Regions from separate parts of the Homo sapiens genome. Here regions 2, 3 and 4 are each linked to region 1. Evidence: promoter capture Hi-C in human tissues and cell types (Jung and others, 2019). All regions are on one chromosome and are shown on one strand. Each heading gives the region's core, a stretch centred on a gene start or on the middle of the fragment in contact. The rest is flanking DNA. Distances are from core to core; before and after follow the strand shown. Region 1 holds the start of RBM47 (RNA binding motif protein 47). Region 2 overlaps LINC02265 (long intergenic non-protein coding RNA 2265). Region 3 overlaps CHRNA9 (cholinergic receptor nicotinic alpha 9 subunit). Region 4 has its middle 26 kb from the start of CHRNA9.

Evidence for each region. The method cuts DNA at HindIII sites, captures the fragments that hold promoters and counts their contacts. A contact is called where the count stands out against the background at its distance.
Region 2: a fragment that was not itself captured here is called in contact with the fragment with the promoter of RBM47 in region 1 in 1 of the 25 tissues and cell types used here (lymphoblastoid cells).
Region 3: a contact is called between a fragment that was not itself captured here and the fragment with the promoter of RBM47 in region 1, in 2 of the 25 tissues and cell types used here (ovary and pancreas).
Region 4: a fragment that was not itself captured here is called in contact with the fragment with the promoter of RBM47 in region 1 in 5 of the 25 tissues and cell types used here (heart right ventricle, liver, mesenchymal stem cells and 2 more).

What each region holds. Positions count from the first base shown.
Region 1 is chr4:40,626,450-40,632,060 of GRCh38, forward strand. RBM47 (RNA binding motif protein 47) reads right to left here and starts at 3,415. Exons shown (of 7, transcript NM_001098634.2): 1 at 2,947-3,415. RefSeq lists enhancers at 2,272-3,148, 3,149-4,026, 3,209-3,278. The HindIII fragment of the contact is 13,848 bases long and covers 1-5,611 here.
Region 2 is chr4:40,317,088-40,322,698 of GRCh38, forward strand. The region is part of intron 2 of LINC02265 (long intergenic non-protein coding RNA 2265); the gene reads left to right. Among named protein-coding and RNA genes, the nearest start is that of LINC02265, 13 kb to the left of the region's middle. RefSeq lists enhancers at 1-325, 1-233. The HindIII fragment of the contact is 3,787 bases long and covers 143-3,929 here.
Region 3 is chr4:40,336,530-40,342,140 of GRCh38, forward strand. CHRNA9 (cholinergic receptor nicotinic alpha 9 subunit) reads left to right here. Exons shown (of 5, transcript NM_017581.4): 3 at 681-835. Among named protein-coding and RNA genes, the nearest start is that of CHRNA9, 4.0 kb to the left of the region's middle. The HindIII fragment of the contact is 7,431 bases long and covers 1-5,611 here.
Region 4 is chr4:40,358,855-40,364,465 of GRCh38, forward strand. No RefSeq gene overlaps it. Among named protein-coding and RNA genes, the nearest start is that of CHRNA9, 26 kb to the left of the region's middle. The HindIII fragment of the contact is 6,053 bases long and covers 272-5,611 here.

The sequences.
Region 1 (5,611 bases), core at 2,165-4,664:
GCTAGTTTACCTGCAATCCTTTGAGGGCAGTGGTAATCTCCATGTGAGCTTTCTGGTAAATTCCACACTAGGACCACATTCAGAACTTACCTGTTTCTTGGCCGTTTATTCCTCTAGACACTCTCTCCCTTTCTACTTTCGCTGGAAAATGAAAGTTTTCCTCCCCCACACCTTTTTCAGAGCAAAAGATACGAGAACCTTAAAAGCAGGTGGTCATTGACTTCAAGGGGACGAGATCGCCCTCCCCACTGCCTCTCCCCATACAGACGCTCACAGAATAGACGGGGAAGCAACTATGAGAGAAACAGAAGCAATCAGAACTCCAGCTCAGACGACCTCAGGAGTTTTACCAACAGGATGATTCAGGACCACACACAAAAAATGGCAGGGTGCCATTTCCCCCGAATCTCTCCCGCATAAGATGGAAACAACAACTTGAGGTGGCAACTGAGCAATTAGTTACTGATCATTTCTATGACAATTCTCTGAAGGCTCCAAAGGCCTCCTATCTTGAAACCCAGGTCATCTCTGCATTGCTATTATTGAAAATCTTTATCCAGTTGCTCTTTGAAGCCACTACTTGGAGCAGTAATGTTGGGACCAACACACACCTTTTATGATATTAAACCAGAAAATCAGCATCATCATTAAGACACAGAGACTGTTCCCAAGAGGGAAAGAAAATATATCTCCTAATCAGGCCAGTAGCTGAAACACTGCAATATAACCTGTAGCTTGGAATCACGGTGACAAGCACTTAAAGCTGCATTTAATGTCTTCATTGTAACTTCATCAAAGTTTGGCACACAAATTCTACCTTTATTCTAAGCATACCCTTTTTCTAAGTCTCATGAATCCCAAACTTAAACCCTCTTCAGAGTTTTTTTTCCCCAGAATTATGTATCTTCTGGGATTACCTAATCACAGTTTCACTTGAGCCTGGGTCCAATTTTAAGAAAATCTCCCTCCCTTCACGCTTATATCCACTCCCCTGACCTTTTCTGAAAAATCAAGAGACTTAAGATGTGGAGGCGGAAACTTACTGAAATAGCCAAATGCTTTTCTATAGCAATGAAAGCTCAGTCATTTGGGACATGATTTAATCTTGAGCTTCAGAGCAGAATTTGAAAAGCAAATTAAATCCTTTTGTAAGAAAATAATTTCATCTTAACCCAATCTTTTAAAAAATCATTACCTAGAACAGTAAACCAAATAGTCTAATATGAATGTTCTTATCATGTGAGGAAAAAAATGAGTAGTCTTTAACACTAGTTAGAGCAAGTCTATAGAACACGTGTCCAGAAGCATGTAGTTCCCTTGCTTTCTGTCTTTATTTCATCCTCAGTATCACTACTGCTTTGGGCAGAATTCTTTCAAAATTTAATTTAAAGCAGCACAGTGGGGGAATCAAAAATAAATATGTTGACTATTAAAAATATAGAGATTGGTAAAAAAAATGATGATGATGAATTCTCAATCCTACAAACTTCTGTAAACGCAAAAACCAAGAGGAAGATAATAAATCTTTAATAATTGATTGATATTCAGAATATCTTGATCTAATTAATTTAAAGCATGGCCTACCTAGCCAGGTAAAGGACGGCACAGCTAGGCTTATTTCTTCATTTGACACATACTGAAAGTTAATAATGAAGCTAGGTGCTTGGGAAATTTCTGAGACCCCATCCTTCCAGCATGCAATAATTAAGTCAAAGAGGCCAACAGTGTGTATATCAGAACAAGGTGAAGGGTAAAGCAGACCAGAAAAAAATATTAAAAACCAAACCATCTCCTCCTTTCTTTTTTTCCTTCTGTTTTCCTTTCAGACTGGGTTGATTTTAGTTCCCTCCAAGACTTCAAGTCATTGATCTAACAAAGATCATTGTTTAAATTAATAGCAACACAAACTCCCACAAAGTGATCTCTTCTTATGCTCTAGGTTGAGTACTTTGGTTTATCTAGAGGTTGTGTGTTACGCCGCTGACCACCTTTCACCTTTTAGAATCGGCACCTGCAATTCTCAAATGCTCTGGATCTAATTGCCAACCTTTTGAGCTCAAAACTTCGGCAACTCCTTCATGTTGGGTTGTCAACCCTTTGCTTTCCCTCCCCTGAGAAATTCGTATGACCTTGCCTTAAAACTTTTAAAGAATACATTTTAAAATCTATATTCCTGCTAAAGAAAACAGTGAGTCATTAAAATACCACCAGATAAAAAAAAAAGGTTTGATTTTTAGTTCAGGTCGGTAATGGCCTGTAAGTACCTTGAAGATGGTATCTTCCTATCACTTATGCCTTGGGACAGTACCCAAGAGTGGCTGAACTTTTACCTAATTAAAAAATGAGTCATTTATTTGAAAAATTCCACTTCCATTTATTTTATCTGATTTCTTAAATATCCGGTCAACTGCTAATTTGTCAGATGTCATAATTCGTCAGTCCTACCCTTTTCTACAGGCTGAATTTTTAATTTGAAACAACTACACCTCTACCGAGTGTTACTTTCAGACGTAAATTACTGCAGGAAGACCCCCCTCTGCCTTGGTTAACACTTAAATGAGATGCCTCCTGTCCAGGACGCTTCCTCAGTCTCACTGTAATAATCTGAGTCTAAAGTCACCTGTGCTTCTGGGCGGTCCAATCATGTATTTTCAAGAGTGAAAAAAAAAAATCAGTTTCTTTTATGGGAAAAGATTCATCACTACAGGAAACACGATGGGACTGACTGTATATGATTATCTGCCTTCCCAGAGGTTGACCCTTTTAAAACCGTTTTATAAACCCTTTATTTCCCACTAAATATACCAAGAGACAGAAGATGAGTGATAGCATGAGGGATAAGAGCTAAAGAGAGAAGAATAAGAAAAAAATATACACTTCAAAAATTGGGACCCAAATGTAAGATTAAGGGACAATAGTTAGAAGGACTACCAAAAACCACCTTACCTTTCCTTGTTAAGTTTTTGGAGCCGCCCACTTCAGAAATTAACACCATTCACAGCCCAGGAGCAACTTAACACAGCTAGGAAGTCACCTACAACATCTTCTCGTCCGCCTTCTTTTTAATGTAAAACCAAAATAAGGAGTGTCCAGCGACTCCCCACCGCGCCGCTTAAAGCAACAGAGCGTTTTAGGCTTAACTCCCAGGCTCTGGGAATTCCAGTGGGTCAGAATTGCTTAACCTTGGAGACTTGCAGAGAGAAAGTCTCCAGGAGGACCGCTCCCCAAACCCTGGTTTCTCTCTATCCCAAGCTGCACATTCCACAGTGGAAAGCGGGAGCGGCGACCCGAAGGCAGCGAAGTTCTCTCGGGCTCAGCTCCCGAGGCCGGGAGCGCGCGGCGGTTCCACCCGCAGAGCGGCGCCGCGTCCCGGCTGCGTGGGGCGCTGCGCACGGGAGCGCTCAGCGTCTAGTCTGCGGGCCCTTCCCGGTTCCCTCCCTCTCTCCTCCCGCCGCCCGCCCCCTGCCGAGGCCATCCGCCTCACAGTAGCAAGGTTGTCTCTCGTCTACTCCCTTCCCTTAAACTCACCAAACCAGATTTTTACTCCCAACACCGGCAACTTCCCGTAAATCTGCCCTGAAATTTTATCCTGCTGGCTGAGCCTCCCCTGGCTAAAGGCCAGTGCCACATTCCTGTTGTTTTTTAGGAGCGCAGATACCTTTGCTGAAGGTTCAAAGAAAATCGGCCTTGATGGCAGAGATTGGGGGACTTGACCAGACGGACTTCTCTCCCCGCCCCAAAAGTCACATGCCTTTCAGACACCCAGAAGTGGCACCTGCTCCACCTGGGGGCATCTGTCCGAGTCAGACGCTCGGCCCCCTTCGGGCTGCTCCGAGAAACCCAGCCAGAACCACGTTGGAGAAATTAGGAACCTGCTGCTGAATTTCAAGCCGATCGGAACCGCCCCGCTCCCCTTCTTCCCCCCATAAACAAGTCGCTGGACGAGGTGGGATCTCTGCGACCCCCGCGTGCCCGGGGAGAGCTCCCGGGGCGAGCTCCCGGGGCGTCCTTACCTGGGGCCGAGCATGGCTTGGCCGCGCGCAGGCAGGAGCGTCACGCGGACGGGGCCCTGACCTTTGCCGGGGCCTTCGCAGCAGGGCCTGGGGCCTGGGCGCTGCTCGTTCAGAAGTGGCTCATTTTAGTGCGCTCTGACCTAGAGTTACGGAGGGTTTCTAGAAAGGGAACAAAAAAACACTGCATTTAGAAACAGCAGCCAAGCCCTCGCTTCACCTTGCCTGCTCTCTGGGGAGTTGGCTCGAACCCCCACCCCATCCCAATTCCCAAGAAACCCAGATGTCCGCAATCCGCGCCCCACCCCCTCCGCCTTACCTGTTTATACAAGAGTTAAGGAGCCTCCCGCATTTCAGTGGAGCGCTAAGCCTGTTTGTAGGCGCGGAATGGGCCAACAGGAATCGAATTCTGTGACTAAACAAACTAGAAGAGGAAGCAGGCACCACCAGGAACCTAAAACAGAGTTGTGATTTCGGGTTGCAGTGTCATTCAGCTGAGGGGAAAGAAAAAAATACCGGGCTACTTTAGTGAAAGAATGTTCCAAAAATGGTTCTTTGCTGGTTGAGTTAACACATGCAAAGAGCTTAGAACGGTGCCTAGCACACAGTGTTAGCTGCCGTTATTGTTGTTGTTATTCTTCTTATTATTATTTACATTATGGCTTTTTTCTGAAGAAGAGTGTGTGGTCAGAGTTAGACATGGGCTGTAGCACCAGCATTGCCACTCACCAGCTGTGAGGCCATGAGCAAGATATTTAATCTCTCCCAGCCTCAGTTTCTGGAAGATTCTAACGATGGGATTTTTACAAACAGTTTATATTCATTGCTGACAGTCTTGAATACAATGGGAAATAAAGTCCCTGTAAAGGGTAGCCAACTGAATTTCATCTCACTTAAAAGTTACAAGATTGACAACAGAAATGGAGATAAATTTGCCTGCATTCCATGAAGCTCACTAACGGGAAGGAAATTCAGGGCCCAGCAATCACCCATCTGCTATGCTTAATTCTCATTTGTATTTTGGCACTTGACCTGGTGTCTTACCCTGGGATAGTTACTTATCCCAGACTGGGCCGGACAAATAATGACCCTTGCCGTTTGAAAAGCAGTATGAAAGAGAGGGAAATGATTTTGAAACTCCTCATAAATATTAAAAAGTGATTATTGAAGGCTAAAATGTTATCAGTGCCTCCACCCTTTATCCTCCATTTAACTTCACATTTAAAGAAAGAAATCATAATCCCTTTCCATTAGTGAGGCCCTTTCTACTTTATGGAGCACTTTCACCCTTCTTACTTTATGTGATCCTTACAAAATGATCCTATGAGCTATTTTGTCCCCATTTTGCAGATGAAGACACTGAGATCACACAGGTTAAGTGTAAGTCCAAGGTGGTGAGGCCAGGACTGGTTCTCAGTTCTAGTTAATTTTTTTTTAAGTTGAAAAATCAAACTGGATTTATTAAAATATATATAAATAACCCTCATTTTTCTTTATTTCATCAGTATTGGAAAGTTAAGTGAAAATTAATTAAAAAGTAGTAGTCCTAAGAGAGAGAAACAAAGGCTGAAGGGGTATCAAGAAAACCATAAATTTAAAAA
Region 2 (5,611 bases), core at 786-3,285, 310 kb before region 1:
TGATGGGCTGTGGAGGATGGTCTGAGTTAAGAATATTTTTTAGCCTCAAGGGAGATGCGTTCTTCACTAAGCGTTTGCAGAAGGTGCAGAAGGTATTGTTCTCAGCCCACGGTGTGTGTTTTGTTGACCTTGACTGCGTTTTTCAGCAAGAAGGAAAGGCTATTTGCCTGATAAATGGAATCGGAGCTCAGCGTCTCGCTCCTAGGCCCCCTAGTGGTTGTCTTTTGCAATTAAAAAAATGAAGTGACGTGAGGTCAACAGCAGGCTCTTTGGGTAACGATCGCAGGTGACTAGAGTGTGCTGCCTTTGACGCTGGCTCCCCCAGACTTCATCAAAGCTCAGGGGAGAAGCCTTGAAAATCAGGAGCTCCAGAGGGACAGACGCATTTCCTCACAGAACGCGGGACAGGAAGGCAGGAACCTTCCGTTGTGGATGGTGAAGAGCTTGTTCTGTCTTCAAACTTCTGAACCAATGTCCTGCATTCCATGTATGTGGCTCATGGTTCTGACCACTGCTGCTTTAAAATGACAGACCTCTGGGCCGGGCACGGTGGCTCACGCCTGTCTGTAATCCCAGCACTTTGGGAGGCCGAGGCGGGCAGATTACGAGGTCAGGAGATCGAGACCATCCTGGCTAACACGGTGAAACCCCTGTCTCTACTAAAAATACAAAAAAAAAAAAAAAAAAAAAAAAAAAAAAAAAAATTAGCCGGGCTTGGTGGCGGGCGCCTGTAGTTCCAGTCCCAGCTACTCCGGAGGCTGAGGCAGTAGAATTGCTTGAATCCAGGAGGCGAAGCTTGCAGTGAGCCGAGATCGTGCCACTGCACTCCAGCCTGGATGACAGAGTGAGACTCCATCTCTCACACACACAAAAAACAAAACAAAACAAACAAACAAACAAACAAACAAAAAGACAGACCCCTGGAAGGTAAATGAAGAGAGGGACCAACAGTGACTGCCCCTCCTTCTCTGGCAGCTCTTGAGGGCAGGCCCTTCTCTTTTCATCTTGTACTCCAGGGCTTATCAAAAGGGCTTAGTATAAGTAGACTCCACAGATGCTTGTGGTCTGAATGATATGTGGAGCCCAGTGGGGTAGATAATATTATTCCTTTCACCCATGAGGAAACTGAGGTGCAAAGAAGATTTTTTAAAAATGCCTGAGATCTCTCACTAATAAATGACAGAACAGAAACTCCAGTCCCAAATCCCAAAGGCTTTTTTTCTACCAAGATGCACCCCCACGCCTCCACCATGCACTCCATCTTGCTGGTCCAGTCCGTCAAGTGAGAGCCTCGTTTTTGGTCTCTGCCTCCTATGGATCAGTCCACCCTGGAGGCACAACCTTCTTTCCCTTCTCTGAACTTCTGGTTCAGACCTCTCATTTGGCAGCGAGTCACGCCTTTAAGGAATAGTTGGCAGGGTGCAGTGGCTCACGCCTATAATCCCAGCACTGTGGGAGGCTGATGTGGGCAAATCGCTTGAGCTTAGGAGTTCGGGACTAGCCCGGGCAACATGGTGAAATCCCTGTCTCTACTAAAAATAAAAAAAAAAAGTAGCTGGATGTGGTGGCGGTGCCTGTGGTCCCAGCTCTCTGGAGGCCGAGGTGGGAGGATCGCTTGAGTCCAGGAGGCAGAGGTTGCAATGACCTGAGATTGCACCATTGCACTCCAGTGGGTGACAAAGCAAGACCCTGTCAAAAAAAAAAAAAAAAAGAGTCAGGTGCAGTGGCTCACGCCTGTAATCCCAGCACTTTGGGAGGCCAAGGCAGGTGGATCTCCTGAGGTCAGGAATTTGAGACCAGCCTGGCCAACATGGTGAAACCCCGTCTCTACCAAAAATACAAAAAAATTAGCCGGACCTGGTGGCAGGCGCCTGTAATCCCAGCTACTTGGGAGGCTGAGGCAGGAGAATCTTTTGAACCCGGGAGATGGAGGTTGCAGTGAGCCGAGACTGTGCCATTGAACTCCAGCCTGGGGAACAAGAGTGAGACTTCTCTCAAAAAAAAAAAAAAAATAGTCTTCTTGCTTGCATTACTTATTTAACTTTTATTGTTATTCAGCTTTTCTTAGAAATTTGTCTTTTTCCTCTAAATATTCCATAATCACCTTGAAGGATGAGATGATGTGTAGTTAATTCTTGTGAACTCTCTGCCCAGCATTCAGTAAATATTTGCAGTATGAGTGGATTTTGCAGCACTATTCTGATCAAAACTCACCTCTCAGTGCCTGTTTCTACTGGGAAACTAGGAAATATTTTTTTTGTTTTGTTTTGTGTTGTTTGAGACAGAGTCTCGCTCTGTCACCCAGGCTGGAGTGCAGTGGCCAGATCTTGGCTCACTGCAACTTCTGCATCCCGGGTTCAAGCGATTTTCCTGCCTCAGCTTCCCAAGTAGCCGGGACTACAGGCGCCCACCACCATGCCAGGCTGATGTTTGTATTTTTAGTAGAGATGGGGTTTCACCATTTTGGCCAGGCTGGTCTCGAACTCCTGACCTTGTGATCCACCCACCTTAGCCTCCCAAAGTGCTGGGATTACAGGTGTGAGCCACCATGACCAGCTGGAAGTGGTTTTAATATTTATCTTAAAACATGTATTCTCATCAAAAAGGTGATCCACTCCCCTCTGCTGAGGGGCTTACAACCTAAGTTAAGTTAAATACAGTTCTCTTTTCTCCAGAAGCTTAACTCTTGAGCTTGTACTTATCTTACTTATCTTGGCTATTACTACACTGGATTTAGGTCAAAGGTAGAATTTTTTTTTTTTTTTTGAAACAGAGTCTCACTCTGTCGCCCAGGCTGGACTGCAGTGGTGCGATCTCGGCTCACTGCAACCTCCACCTCCCGGGTTCAAGTGATTCTTTTGCCTCAGCTTCCCGAGAATCTGGGATTATAGGCGCCTGCCACCACGCCCAGCTAATTTTTATATTTTTAGTAGAGGTGGGGTTTTGCCATGTTGGCCAGGCTGGTCTCGAACTCCTGATCTCAAGTGATCTGCCTGCCTCGGCCTCCCAAAGTGCTGGGATTACAGGCATGAGCCTCTGCATCCAGGCTAGGTCAAAGGTGGAATCTAAATTCATTTAGGTCCTTCCATTTTGACTGGAATCTGTCAGCTCCCAAACACAGCACATCCGTTCCGCAACGGGGATCCACTCTGACAAGCTGGGTCACAGTGGGGCTAGTTTCTCTGCCAGGCGCATTTACATCCAAGGTTGTTTCATCTTGCTCTTAAGGCTGCCCTTTAGGGAGCCATGCTTGGCACAGGTGTGTGCACATTAAGGTTAAGACACTCAGCTGCCACCATCCTCTCACCGCGGACACCAGAAGCGTCACTGCCCAGGGAAGGCCAGCCAAGACTGCCTGGGGAATTGTGGCATGGGAGGAGGGTGACTGCCAATCAAGAGATCTCTGTCAGGCCTGGCTCTCACCACTACAATCATGTATTTCATGAGCATTTATTGGACACCTCTTGTATATCAAATACTGGGGATACCAAGACAAATGGAGCATCTGAGAGATGCTCAGTCTGGCCGGGGAGACAATAGGTAAACAGTTGAGTAACGGGATGGGCACTGTGATAGAAGTATGTACCAGAAACCACAAGAACATAGGAGAGGAAGCACGGAATTCTGCCTGGGAGGTTGGAAAGGGCTTTCTCGATTAGGTGATTTTCAAGATGAGACTTGAAAGAGAAGCTGTTCACTGGTTGGGCATGGAGGGGACAACTATTCCAGGCTGAGGGACAACATGGAAACAGCATGGAGGCCCGAGAGAGTGCAGCAAATCACCTTGCTATTAGAGCTATGTGGGGCCGGGTGCGGTGGCTCATGCCTGTAATCCCAGCACTTTGGGAGGCCTAGGTGGGCAGATCACCTGAGGTCAGGAGTTTGAGACTAGCCTGGCCAACATAGGGAAACCCCGTCTCTACTGAAAATACAAAAATTAGCCAGGTGTGGTGATGCATGCCTGTAATCCCAGCTACTCAGGAGGATGAGGCAGGAGAATCACTTGAACCCGGGAAGTGGAGGTTGCAGTGAGCCGAGATCGTGCCACTGTACGCCAGCTTGGGCGACAGAGCCAGACTCCGTCTTAAATAAATAAATAAATAAATAAATAGAGGGGAAAAAAAGAAAAGAAAAGAGAAAAAAAGCTATGTGGGATGGCAGGCGATGCACCTGGTGAGGAAGGCAGGACAGAGAGTTTGAAGGGTCTCCTATGCCATGATTTAGAGCAGGGCCTTCATCCTGTGGGTGATGGGGGACATGGGAGGATTTCATACAGGCAGGGGAGTGTAACATGGTCAGAGTCCAAAACATTGAAGTAACAGCAGTGTGAGTGGGGACTAGAGGAAAAGGAGACTGAAGGAAGAAGGAACAGCCCCAAGATGGTTTTCAATAGTCCAGGAAATACTACCTTGTAGGGGTTTGGGGTGATAAGAGGGATGGCGTGGGCTTAGCAGACAGGATTGATGGAGCCTGGTAGCAGATGGGATGTAGTAGTATGTGAGGGGAATCTGGGACAACTCCCAGTATCTGGCATGGGGGACTGGGAAATGGTGACTTTCTTCATCAAAACCAGGAACCCATGGCAGGCCAGGGGAAGATAGTGAGTTCCACTTGACCACATCTGAAATGCTATGGAATCTCCAAGCAGAGCTGTCCAGGAAGTGGTTGGTATGTGAGAGTCTGAGCTTTGGGTAGATACTGGTTTTGGATGTAAAAAGGCTGGATCAGGTTTCTCTCTCTATAGACATTCAATAAACATTGTTTTGAGTAGCTAATTAAGAATTACAGGGCACTGGGAAAACAGAAGGATGTTGCAATGTAAATGTGGATGCTCTTACAGTAATGGACTGATGGTTGCAGAAAAGCTCAAGCTAAATAACACTAATTTTTCAGCTATAAATAAACCTGCCTCTGCAGTTGGGGTTTTCAATTACGCAGGAAAAAGAAATGCAGCCATGGAAACGAGGAAGAGAGCTACGCAGAGGGCAGCTCGTGCCTGCAGGGCAAAAATGTTAGCACATTCTAGCCAAAATGGATGGTGAAGTATAGTCTGATCCGGTGGAAAAGAAATGCAAGTCTAATGTCCTGGGTTCAAGTATGAGTTGAGCGTCTGTCACAGAGTATCAGACATGAAGCAAATGTTTGCTCTCTACTTTTAGAGATGTCGTCAGTGTTGTAAGCTTTTTATGTGTATCACCTCATTCAATCCTCAGAACAACCTCATGACAGAGTCTTTGTTCTGCCCCCTTTAGAGATGAGTAAACTGAACACAGAGAGTTTAAACAACTTTCCCCAGGCCACCAGCTAAAACGTGGCAATTCGATGATTTGAACCCAGACAGCCTGAACCCAGAATCCTTTCAGGGACTCTTCACTACTCCTAACTATGCTATGCTGCCTTTCCATGCAAAAAGCTAGGAAATATCACTTTGCACAGCCTTCATTTTCTTATCAGTCCATGGATTTTTGTAAAGAGCAAGGGGCATAATTTATATTAAGGCCTAAATGACAGATGTATATTTTCATTGTGTTTTCTATGATTGGCTCTTCAAGGGAGTAGTGTTTAAAGTTTTGCCCCAAATGTTCTTTTCAAGGAGAGCTCTGGGAGGTCC
Region 3 (5,611 bases), core at 1,854-4,353, 290 kb before region 1:
GCAGTGGCATGATCTCCGCTCACTGTAAGCTCTGCCTCCTGGGTTCACACCATTCTCCTGCCTCAGCCTCCTGAGTAGCTGAGACTACAGGCACCCGCCACCACACCCGGCTAATTTTTTTTTTGTATTTTTAGTAGAGACAGGGTTTTACCGTGTTAGTCAGGATGGTCTCAATCTCCTGACCTCATGATTCGCCCGCCTCGGCCTCCCAAAGTGCTGGGATTACAGGCATGAGCCACCGCGCCCGGCCAATCTCAATTTTTTAAAAAAGGTAGTGTTTTAAGATGGCATAGCTTATTAGTGCTTATCTATGTTTAATTACACAATGTTATGAAACTTGAAAGATTTTCCTTCTGCACATTGTTATTTCCTGACTTTTGCTTTCAAGTACATCATTCATTGATCAATTTTCAGGAAATATAGGCAGTTGATCTATGCAAAGATATCAATACTAAAATATTTGTCCACTTTACATTCTGAACACTAAATCTAGGAGGAAAAAAAATATGATCTTGGCAGTCAATCAAGGGGATAGAATAAATAAAGAATAAAGCTCTCACTTTACTTATTGAAATTTGATGAGTGTTTGTGAAATTCCTATTGTGAAGAACAAGTGTCCTATCAGTGGAAAACATTTCAAGTGTCTGCTAGGTAAAGCGACATCTGGATTCATTGTGTAGGATGAAAGAAACCAAATTCTGACTGCTTATTTGTGGATCCGCCAAATCTGGCACGATGCCTATCTCACGTGGGACCGAGATCAGTACGATGGCCTAGACTCCATCAGGATCCCCAGTGACCTCGTGTGGAGGCCAGACATCGTCTTATATAACAAGTAAGTGCAGCTCAGAACTGAGGCTTTTCAGGCATGAACGTGTTGATTTCATAGAATTTAAACATAATGAAAAAGGAATGTTTAAAACATGCATGAAATTAAATATTAATCCATGTTCCTAGGACTTACTGAAATAAGAGACATAGAATCTTAGATCAGGAAATAATATGTCATAAAAGCTTAGAGCTGGAAAGAAACCATCCATCTACATGCCCCTTTTTCAGGTGGGAAAGTGGAGGCTGCATTAGTTTGCTAGGGCTAACTTTGCCATAACAGAGTAGCACAGATTAGATGACTTAACAAAAATGTGTTATCTCACAGTTCTGGAGTTGAGATGCCTGAGATGAAGGGGTTGACAGCGTGGTTTCCTCTGAGGGCTGTGAGGGAGGATCTGTACCAGGCCTCTCTTCTAGCTAATGGTGGTTTGCTGGCAGTCTTTGGTGTTCTTGGCATTATAGAAGCGTCACTCTGAGCTCTGCCTTCATCTTCACATGGCATTCTCCTGTGTGTTCCCTGTGTCCAAATTTCCCCTTTCTATAAGGACACCAGCCATATTGGATTAGATGTCCACCCTACTCCAGCGTGACTTCATCTTAACCTAACTAATTACATCTTCATGATACTATTCTCAAATCAAGTCACATTCTGAGTGTTGGGGGCTAAGACTTCAATATGTGAATTTTTCAGGGACACAATTCAACTCTTAACAGTGACACTCACCATCCAAGATCATGTATCAATAATTAATTAAACCGGAATGGGCCATCTAGAAACTGACCTGTGGATTTGGGGCTTTGTGTGGAGTGGAGGATGAACCAGTTTACGGGATACAAAGTGACGTTTTCCCGGTCTCAGAGCAAGGGGCATTGTATAACGGGTAGGTAAAGTTTATGTTTCGCAAGCTGTAAGGTGCATATGAATCGCCCAGGGAGTTTGTTAAAATACAGATTGTGATTCCATGGGTGTGGGGCGGGCCTGTGATTCTGCATTTCTACAAGCTCCGGAAGACGTGGGCACTGTGGGTCCATGGGCTGCATTTTGAGAAAAATACCAGATCTCTGGTCACAGTTCAAGCTCAGTGGCCCCGCCTGTTGTTGAAAGAGCTTCTCTCTGTTTTTATTCTGGAACCCAAGTTTCTGTGGAGTGGGAAGAGTTCCTCTGTGGCTCAGACCTATGTGAATGAGGGGCAGCTCAGGGGGCTCCCCTGGGTGGAGGCTTCCAGTGGGCATGGATTTCCTTTAAGGAAGCAGCACGGGTGGGTTGCAGCCTGGATTTTAGTCTCACTCCTTACTCAGAGAGCTCATCTAAGGGTCATGAGCTCTGGAATCATAGCCCTGTTTTTCTGTCCATTCCCAACTCTGAGTGGCCAGAGGAATCATCTGTATTCCTTCCCAAGGAATATAACAGGAAGATAACATTCAAATACTGGGCTTTATTCCTCCAGTTTACCCTCCCTCCCCGTGCTCGCTCTCTCTGTCTCTGTCTCTGTCTCTCTCTCTCTCTGTCTCTCTCTCTCCCTCTCTCTCTCACACACACACACACACAGAGCAAGAAAACAAACCACATTGTCCATTACCACACTCTCGTCTGCAGAGTGCAGGAGAGTAATATCTGATAATTTCATTGACACAGGCAGGGCGTGAGGACTAACCCCTGTAATCCCAGCACTTTGGGAGGCCAAGGCAGGTGGATCGCCTGAGGTCAGGAGTTCGAGAACAGCCTTGCTAACATGGTGAAATCCGGTCTTTATTAAAAATACAAAAAATCAGCTGGGTGTGGTGGCGGGCGCCTGTAATCCCAGCTACTTGGGAGGCTGAGGCAGGAAACTCACTTAAACCCGGGAGGCAGGGGTTGCAGTGAGCCAAGATTGCACCACTGCACTCCAGCCTGGGCGACAAGAGCGAGACTCCATCTCAAAAAAAAAAAAAAAAAAAAAAGAAAGAAAAAAGAAAAAGAAAGATAATTTCATTGACACAGATGATCTCTTACAGAATTCTGTAAGTTCTTTTTTTTTTAATTTTAAGACAGGGTCTGGGGGCCAGGCATGGTGGCTCACGCCTGTAATCCCAGCACCTTGGGAGGCCGAGGGGGGCGGATCATGAGGTCAGGAGATCGAGACCATCCTGGCTAACATGGTGAAACCCCGTCTCTACTAAAAATACAAAAAAATTAGCTGGGTATGGTGGCAGGCACCAGGAGGCTGAGGCAGGAGAATGCCGTGAACCCGGGAGGCGGAGCTTGCAGTGAGCCGAGATCGCGCTCCAGTCCAGCCTGGGTGACAGAGCTAGACTCTATCTCAAAAAAAAAAAAAAAAAAAGGCGGGGTCTCACTCCTATCGCCCACGCTAGAGTGCAGTGGTGTGATCATGGCTCACTACAGCCTCAACTTCCCGGGCTCAGGTTATTCTCCCACCTCTGCCTCCTGAGTAGCTGGGACTACAGGTGCATGCCACCATGCCTAGTTATTGTTTTTTTTAATTTTTAGTAGAGACAGAGTCTCATCATGTTGCCCAGGCTGGTTTCGAACTCCTGGGCTCAAGTGATCCACCCAGCTCAGCCTCCCAAAGTGCTGGGATTACAGGCATGAGCTGCTGTGCCCGGCCAGCATTCTGTAAGTTCTAAAAATTCTCTCCAGAAGTCAAACAGAACGGTGGTCCCCCTCTCCCTCCTGTTTTGATAGGCTGAGGTGGTGACCTTGTCTTACTGAAATGCTTCTTTGCAAGCTTACAAGGCATCCTAAGTTAAGCTGACCCCACTGCTCCCTTATTAGAGAAGCCAGTTATGTACTCATGAGTTCACACAAGCCTAGTGTGGCTTTGGCTGGTTCTGTCCACATTGTCCCTTCCCCACTCTCCACCCCTTTACACAGAGCCTTTCACCACACTGATTCATCATCTCCTTTTTGTTCCTCTGGTTGACTCTTTAGTCATCTCTGTGCTCTTGTCATGGACAATTCTGTTTCTGCTCCTCTCTTCTCTTTTGCCTTCTCCTTCTCAGTAAAACTTCTCAGAGTTTTGCTGTGTAGAGGAACCTCTAAATGGAGCTATGGTTGGATGACATCTTCATGCCTTTAACAAATTGAAATGAAAATGGAAGAGTGTTGCAGGATCAGGCAAAGAAGGGCCCTTAGTCATGGCTATTTCCCTGAGCTCAGTCCTTCTTGCTGAATCCCTGACTCTGTAGAATCTTCTGATGCCAGATACAATATCATTGCTTCTCAGAAGCAGGTACAGAACATCATAGGCAACACAATGGGCTTCCTGAGTTGTGGCAAGAAGGAGAAATAGGGTTAGGGGGTAGGTGAGTCAGTCCAGTGTGATAAAGACACTCAGGCAGGAAGATGCTTAGCATCTAGAGTCACCATTGGTGCCCAAATCCATGGGGCTAGACTGGTTAGGGAGTGATCAGGAAGGAGATGGGCCTGGATGCCACTTCACAGAACAGTTGAATTTGCTGATGCTTAGTTTGGAAGAGAGAAGACCTTGAAGACTTGATGATGGTTACCTTAGGTAATCAGAGAGAAAGTAAGGTAGAAAAAAGAGAACAAACAACGTTCCAGAAGACAAAACCCGAGATAATCAGTAGAAGCCAAAGGGAAGATAAGCTCTCCAAAAAAAAAAAAAAAAAAAAGAACATTTCCCTAATAACTTCGGCAATGAATTGTCCCAAGAAATAGTGAGCTTTTTAGCAATGTAACAGTTCAAGTAGATACTGGCTCTTTCAGTAAATCAGTAGAGAAATAAATGAATTGGGGCTCAAAGTTCTGGCAGGAATGTTTAGTATTAGTATATGGTTAGTATAGTGGCTGGTATAAGAGGCTACAAGGATTCCTGACATTTTTAGATTAGGTAAAATGCAGATTACAGAAATTTTAAATTTGAATTCATTATGGCAGGGTTTTCATGGTCAGGTTTTTTTTTTTGTTTTTTGGCGGGGGTGGTGGCGGTAGTTTGCTCTGTCACCTAGGCTAGAGTGCCCTGGTGTGATCGTAGCTTACTGCAGCCTTGACCTCCTGGACTCAAGTTGAGAGAGTATTCTCCTCAGTAGGGTCTGGAGACAGGGAGCCTTCACTTCAGCTTCCAACTCGTCACAGACCAAGTCTTCATTGCATGAGGTGTAACTTCACTTCAGCCTCTGATTGGTTGTAGGTCACATCTTCATTTGCATAGGGTATAACTTCACTTCAGCCTCCAATTGGTTGTGGGCCAAGTTTTTATTTACATAGGGCGCAACCAATGGGAAACGTCTAGAGGGTACTTAAACCCCAGAAGATTTTGTAACTGGTGGTCTTAAGCTGCCTACTCGAGCCCATACCCACTCTGTGGAGTGTGGTTTCGTTTCAATAAATCTGAGCATTTATTGTTTCTTTCATTGTTCTGTACTTTCATTGCTTTATTTGTGCATTTTGTCCAATTCTTTGTTCAAAATGTCAAGAACGTGGACGACCTGTAGTCAAGACCCTCCATGTGTAACAAAGTGATCCTCTCACTTCAGTCTCCTGAGTAGCTGGGACTACAGGTATGCACTACCACACCCAGCTAATTTTTACAAACCTTTTTATAGAGATGAGGTCTCACTATATTGCCTGTTGCCTAGGCTGGTCTTGAATTCCTGGGCTCAAGCAATCCTCCTGCCTTGGCCTTCTAAAGTGCTGGGATTACAGGCATGAGCCACCATGCCTGGCCCCAGTGGTTGGATTTTAATGAGCAGTTTTAATGGTTGGATTTTAGACCTGGTGAGGAACTGGGTGCCCTATTGTATTCAAAAGAATTTGTCT
Region 4 (5,611 bases), core at 2,048-4,547, 270 kb before region 1:
TGAGGCAGGAGAATCGCTTGAACCCAGGAGACAGAGGTTGTGGTGAGCCAAGATTGCGCCCTTACACTCCAGCCTGGGCAACAAGAGCGAAACTCTGTCTCAAAAAAAAAAAAAAAAAAAAAAAAGAATAACAATTACTCAAGTTCCACAATCATAGCAATAACAACTATTCATTTACTATTATTTTCCTTCAATCATATTTATGTGTCTAGTTTCTCTGCTATAATTATAATCATTATGTATTTACTATTTTGTCCTGCTATATTTATTTATTTATTTATTGAGACAGAGTCTTGCTCTGTTGCCCAGGCTGGAGTGCAGTGGCTCTCTCTCGGCTTACTGCAATATCCGCCTCCTGGGTTCAAGCGACTCTCCTGCCTCAGCCTCCTGAGTAGCTGGGATTACAGGTATGTGCCACCACACCCGGCTAATTTTGTATTTTCAGTAGAGATGGGGTTTCTCCATGTTGGTCAGGCTGGTCTTGAACTCCTGACCTCAGGTGATCTGGTTGCTTTGGCCTCTCAAAGTGCTGGGATTACAGACATGAGCCACCGCATCTGGACTTATTTTCATTTTTGAGATGGGGTCTTGCTCTGTCATCCAGGCTGGAGTGCAGTAATGCAATCACGGCTCACTGAAGCCTGGACTTCCTGGGCTCACGTCATCCTCCCATCTCAGTCTCCTGAGTAGCTGGGACTACATGCATGCATCACCAAGCCCAGCTAATTTTTTAATTTTTTATAGAGATGGGGTTTTACTATGTTGCTCAGGTTGGTCTCAAACTCCTAGGCTCAAGCAATCCTCCCACTCAGTCTCCCAAAGTGCTGGGATTACAGGTGTGAGCCACCTGCCCAGACAGCATTCAATTTTTAAATAATTTTTTGTATAGATGGGGTTTCATTTTGTTGCCCTGGCTGGTCTTGAACTCCTGGCCTCAAGTGATCCTCCCACCTCAGCCTCCCAAAGACTCTGGTATTATAGGTATGCGTTCTTCAATTTGTACTGAACCTGTGGTAGGCAGAATAATGGTCCACCAAAGATGTCCAAGTGCTAATGTGAAGGACTGGTGAGTGTGCTAAGTTACCCCGCAATGAGAAGTTAAGGTTGCTAATCAACTGACCTAGAGGTGGGGAGATAATTTTAAATTATCCAGCTGGATAAAGATCCTTTTAAGTAGAAAAGGGAGGCAGAAGAGAGAGAACCAAAGAGATGGTATCATGAGAAGGACTCAGCCAATGTTGCTGACTTCGAAAAATGGAGGAAAAGAGCTATGAACCAACAGTGTGAGAAGCAGCCTCTAGGAATCGGAAAAGTCAAAGCAACAGATTGTCCCCTAGAGCCTCCAAAAGGAAAGCAGCCCTGCTGATATCTTAATTTTAGCCCAGTGAGATCCATTCCAGACTTTTGACCCTCCCAAACTCCAAGATAACAAATGTGGGTTAAGACATGAAATTTATGGTAATTTGTTATAGCAGCAATAGAAAACCAATTCAGTATCCAATGTTTAAGAAATAAGACTGTGGTGGCAATTAAAAGACTGTAGAGAAAAGTGGTAAAAGGCAGGGAGATCTATTGGGATTTTTTTTTTTTTTTTACCTGTTTAGGAAAGTGATAATGAAGGTTTGACCCAAGATGGTGGGAATAAGAAAATGGATAAGATTACAGATCACAAAATATTTATGACCTAGAATAGACAGGCTAGTTGGATACGGGCTTAGGGAGAGGATGGCATTGAGAATAATGCAGACAATCAAGGTGAAGAGTAAAAGAGAACCAGGTATTGGAGGAAAGAATTCTTTGTAGGGCATCTTGAGCTGGAAATTCTCATAGGAAATCCTGGCAGAGATAGCTAGTAAGTAGTCGACCATGCATTTGAAACTGGAGAAAAGTGAAAGCTAAAATAATTTTAAAATGAAAAATATTAGGTGGGGTGTGGTGGCTCATGCCTGTAATCTGAGCACTTTGGGAGGCTGAGGCAGGCGGATCACGATGTCGGGAGATCGAGACCATCCTGGCTAACACGGTGAAACCCCATCTCTACTAAAAATACAAAAAATTAGCCAGGCGTGGTGGCAGGCAACTATAGTCCCAGCTACTCTGGAGGCTGAGGCAGGAGAATGGCGTGAACCCAGGAAGCAGAGCTTGCAGTGAGCCAAGATCACGCCACTACACTCCAGCCTGGGTGACAGAGCAAGACTCTGTCTCAGTTAAAAAAAAAAAAAAGAAAAAGAAAAATATTAAAGAGATGTTATACTCAGGTTAATTGTTAAAGTATTTTTAACTGATTTCAGTGGGTAAGACATGGTGCTACAAACTGTGAGAAACTCAATAGAATAAAATCACATTCCTTGCCAGAATTCTAGAAACTCACAATCAGTCTGCATCATTAAAGCTTTATCTTGTTATGCGGTCATTTCTTCATTTTCATGTCTACTTCCCCAAGTATATTCAGACCCTCTCCAGACCTGGGGCCCAGAAGCTCTGTCATTATTCTCTCCGTCATTGTGCACAATAACAGGCCTAGTACACAATCATTAAACAGTAAACAATTGTTAAATGAATGACCGGGTGAAAGGAAGAGCTGTTAGAGAGTCCAACAAATCACTACAGAAATGCTGACCATGAAAAGCCTCCTATATTATGCAACAGACTGCCTTCAAAATAACAGCAATTGAGTTGGCAACAGACTTCTCATCTGCAACTATAGAAGCCAAGAAACATGGAGTAATATCTTCAAAATGCCAAAGAAAATTGACTGTCAACATAAAATTTGAACACTCAGCTGAACTATTCACAGTTGCAGAAAAAAATGTAGACGTACAAAAAAATAACAATACTTACCTTGCCCTTACCCTTGACCCTTAATTTAAATAACTTCAACAAGAACAAAAGTGAACTTAATGGAAGGAAGAAAAATACAGAAAGCAACAATGAGAAAAACATCAATAAAATATAATTTGTGGCAGGGCACGGTGGCTTATGCCTGTAATCCCAGCACTTTGGGAGGCCAAGGCGGGTGGATCACCTGAGGTCAGGTGTTTGAGACCAGCCTGGCCAACATGATGAAACCTTGCTCTACTAAAAATGCAAAAAATAACCAGGCATGGTGGAGCGCCCCTGTAATCCCAGCTACCCGAGAGGCTGAGGTGGGAGAATTGCCTGAACCCAGGAGGTGGAGGCTGCAATGAGCCTAGATTGTGTATAGTGTAATTATTGCAATAGTATTATTAATAATACAAAGACATGTTTCATATAAGGTAGAACAAAAACTCTATGTAATGATGTGGAAATTAAGAAGGGGAAGGTAAGATGGAACCTAAACCACACTAAGGTCTTTGTCTAGATAACAAATTACTTTTTTTTTTTTTTTTGAGATACGGTCTTACTCTGTCACCCAGGCTGGAGTGCACTGCTGCAATCTTGGCTCGCTGCAACCTCCGCCGCTTGGGTTTAAGAAATTCTCGTGCCTCAGCCTCGTTAGTAGCTGGGATTATAGGCGCCCACCATTATGCCTGGCTAATTTTTGTATTTTTCCTAGAGATGGGGTTTTGGCATGTTGGCCAGGCTGGTCTCGAGCTCCTGACCTCAAGTGATCTGCCTGCCTCAGCCTCCCAAAGTGCTGGGATTACGGGCATGAGCCATTGTGCCCAGCCACAAATTACTTTTAATATTAGTAAAATATATCATATTTGAATAGATGCCAAAAATTTAAGGAATGGCCTTAAAAGTATAGAAATATTAGTTGTGTCTTCTAAATTGAAAAAGGAAACACGAGGAAAGGTAAACTATTTCCAACACAAAAGAAGACAGAAAAGGGGAAAAATAGAAGAGATGCTTCATTCAACTGCTCTTAGCCATGCTTTGGTACAGAGTTCCCTGGATAAGCAATGCAAGTAAAAATACAAACAAAATACAAAATACTACAGCAAAGCGGGAAGGTAAATGTTGTATAGCTATTGAGACAATCAGACTACTGTATACAAAAATAAGTTTCAGACAGATTAAAGACATAGATGTCAAAACAAAAACAAACAAACAAACAAAAAAGCTTGTAAGAAAATTAGACTTCCTTTTTTTTGAGATGGAGTTTCGCTCTTGTTGCCCAGGCTGGAGTGCAATGGCGTGATCTCGGCTCACAGCCACCTCCGCCTCCCGTTGGGTTCAAGCAATTCTCCTGCCTCAGCCTCCCAAGTAGCTGGGATTACAGACATGTGCCACCACGCCTGGCTAATTTTGTATTTTTAGTAGAGAGGGGGTTTCTCCATGTTGGTCAGGCTGGTCTTGAACTCTCAACCTCAGGTGATCTGCCTGCATCAGCCTCCCAGAGTGCTGGGATTACAGGTGTGAGCCACCACGTCCGGCCAAAAATTAGACTTTCTAAATAAAATTCTTCACCTCCATGCATTTTAAGAAGTGGTAGCCACTATGGAAGAGGAGCCAGGGTGCTCTGGAGATAAAGCAAGGGACTGCTTTGGGTTGGGTGGGCAGCCTGTGGAGAAAGTGGTGTTTCAGATGAGACCTGAGGGTGAGAAAGAGCTGGCCGGGGTTAGAGGTGGGAGAAGTGCCAGGTTGCAGGTAGGAGCTCAGGCTCAAGGGCAGAACACAGCTCCTGACGTTGGAGAAAGGGAGAGGAGGCCCCTGAGGCAGAACAGTGAAATCAGATCAATGACCCAAGAGACATAAGAGTCGAGATTGGCAAGGTGAGCAGGGCTGGGTGATCCAGAGCCTTGCAAAGTTTAAGAAAACACCAACTACTTTGTTTATTGTCTGACTGCCTCAGCGCGCTGAGGTGTGTCCAGGTTTGTTGAGGTCCTGACCTTTGTTCTTTCTCCTTCTTTAGCCTCTGTGTCTCCTTTTCCGTCAGCTTAGGGCTCAGACCAACGCTTTACCAATGCAACCGGGACAAACCTGGCAACTGGACTGTCTTGGACAAACTGGAAACACAAGTTCTAGAACATCTGAAGCAATTGTGGTGAGGCCACTTGACATGTCACCAACCCCAGAGAGCAAAGAGCTCTCTGCCTTTTCTTCCTTCCTCTCAGATTACGCCTTTGAAATAAGACCTGACTGTTAAAACTTCATGAGCTTATCAATATATCCAAGCCACTCCAACACTTAAAAAATAAAACCCCATGACAAAACCTCTTTTGCCTTTGTGTATTTCTGTCTCTTTACTCTTGTCAGTCAAATTTCCCTCCTGGATCATTCAGGCTTCCAGCAGGACACAGATGGTGTGTTCATATAAAGATAATTTGAGGAAGGTGTAATAAAGGAGTGTCTGCAAAGGTGTAGGCAGGTTGCAGAGAAACACCAGGGGCAGTAGAAAATCCCAGGCCTAGAAAAGCAGAGCTGTTACCACTCTAGGCCTGAGAGGAGGTGGGAAGGAGTGGTTACCTGGACCCAGGAGGAAAGCCATGACTTCTGGTTGAGCAAATGTGGCAGAAGCCTTAGGGAAGGAGTTGGGGGATATATATATATATCCCCATCTCACCCTCCTTCCCTCCAGTCTCCTCCTAGGGCTCACCGTTGGCCAAACTCAACAGTCATGGGAATCTGTTGGTGCTGCCTGTGTGCCCAGGACAGACAGCAGAGTGGCAAAGCATTGAGTGTG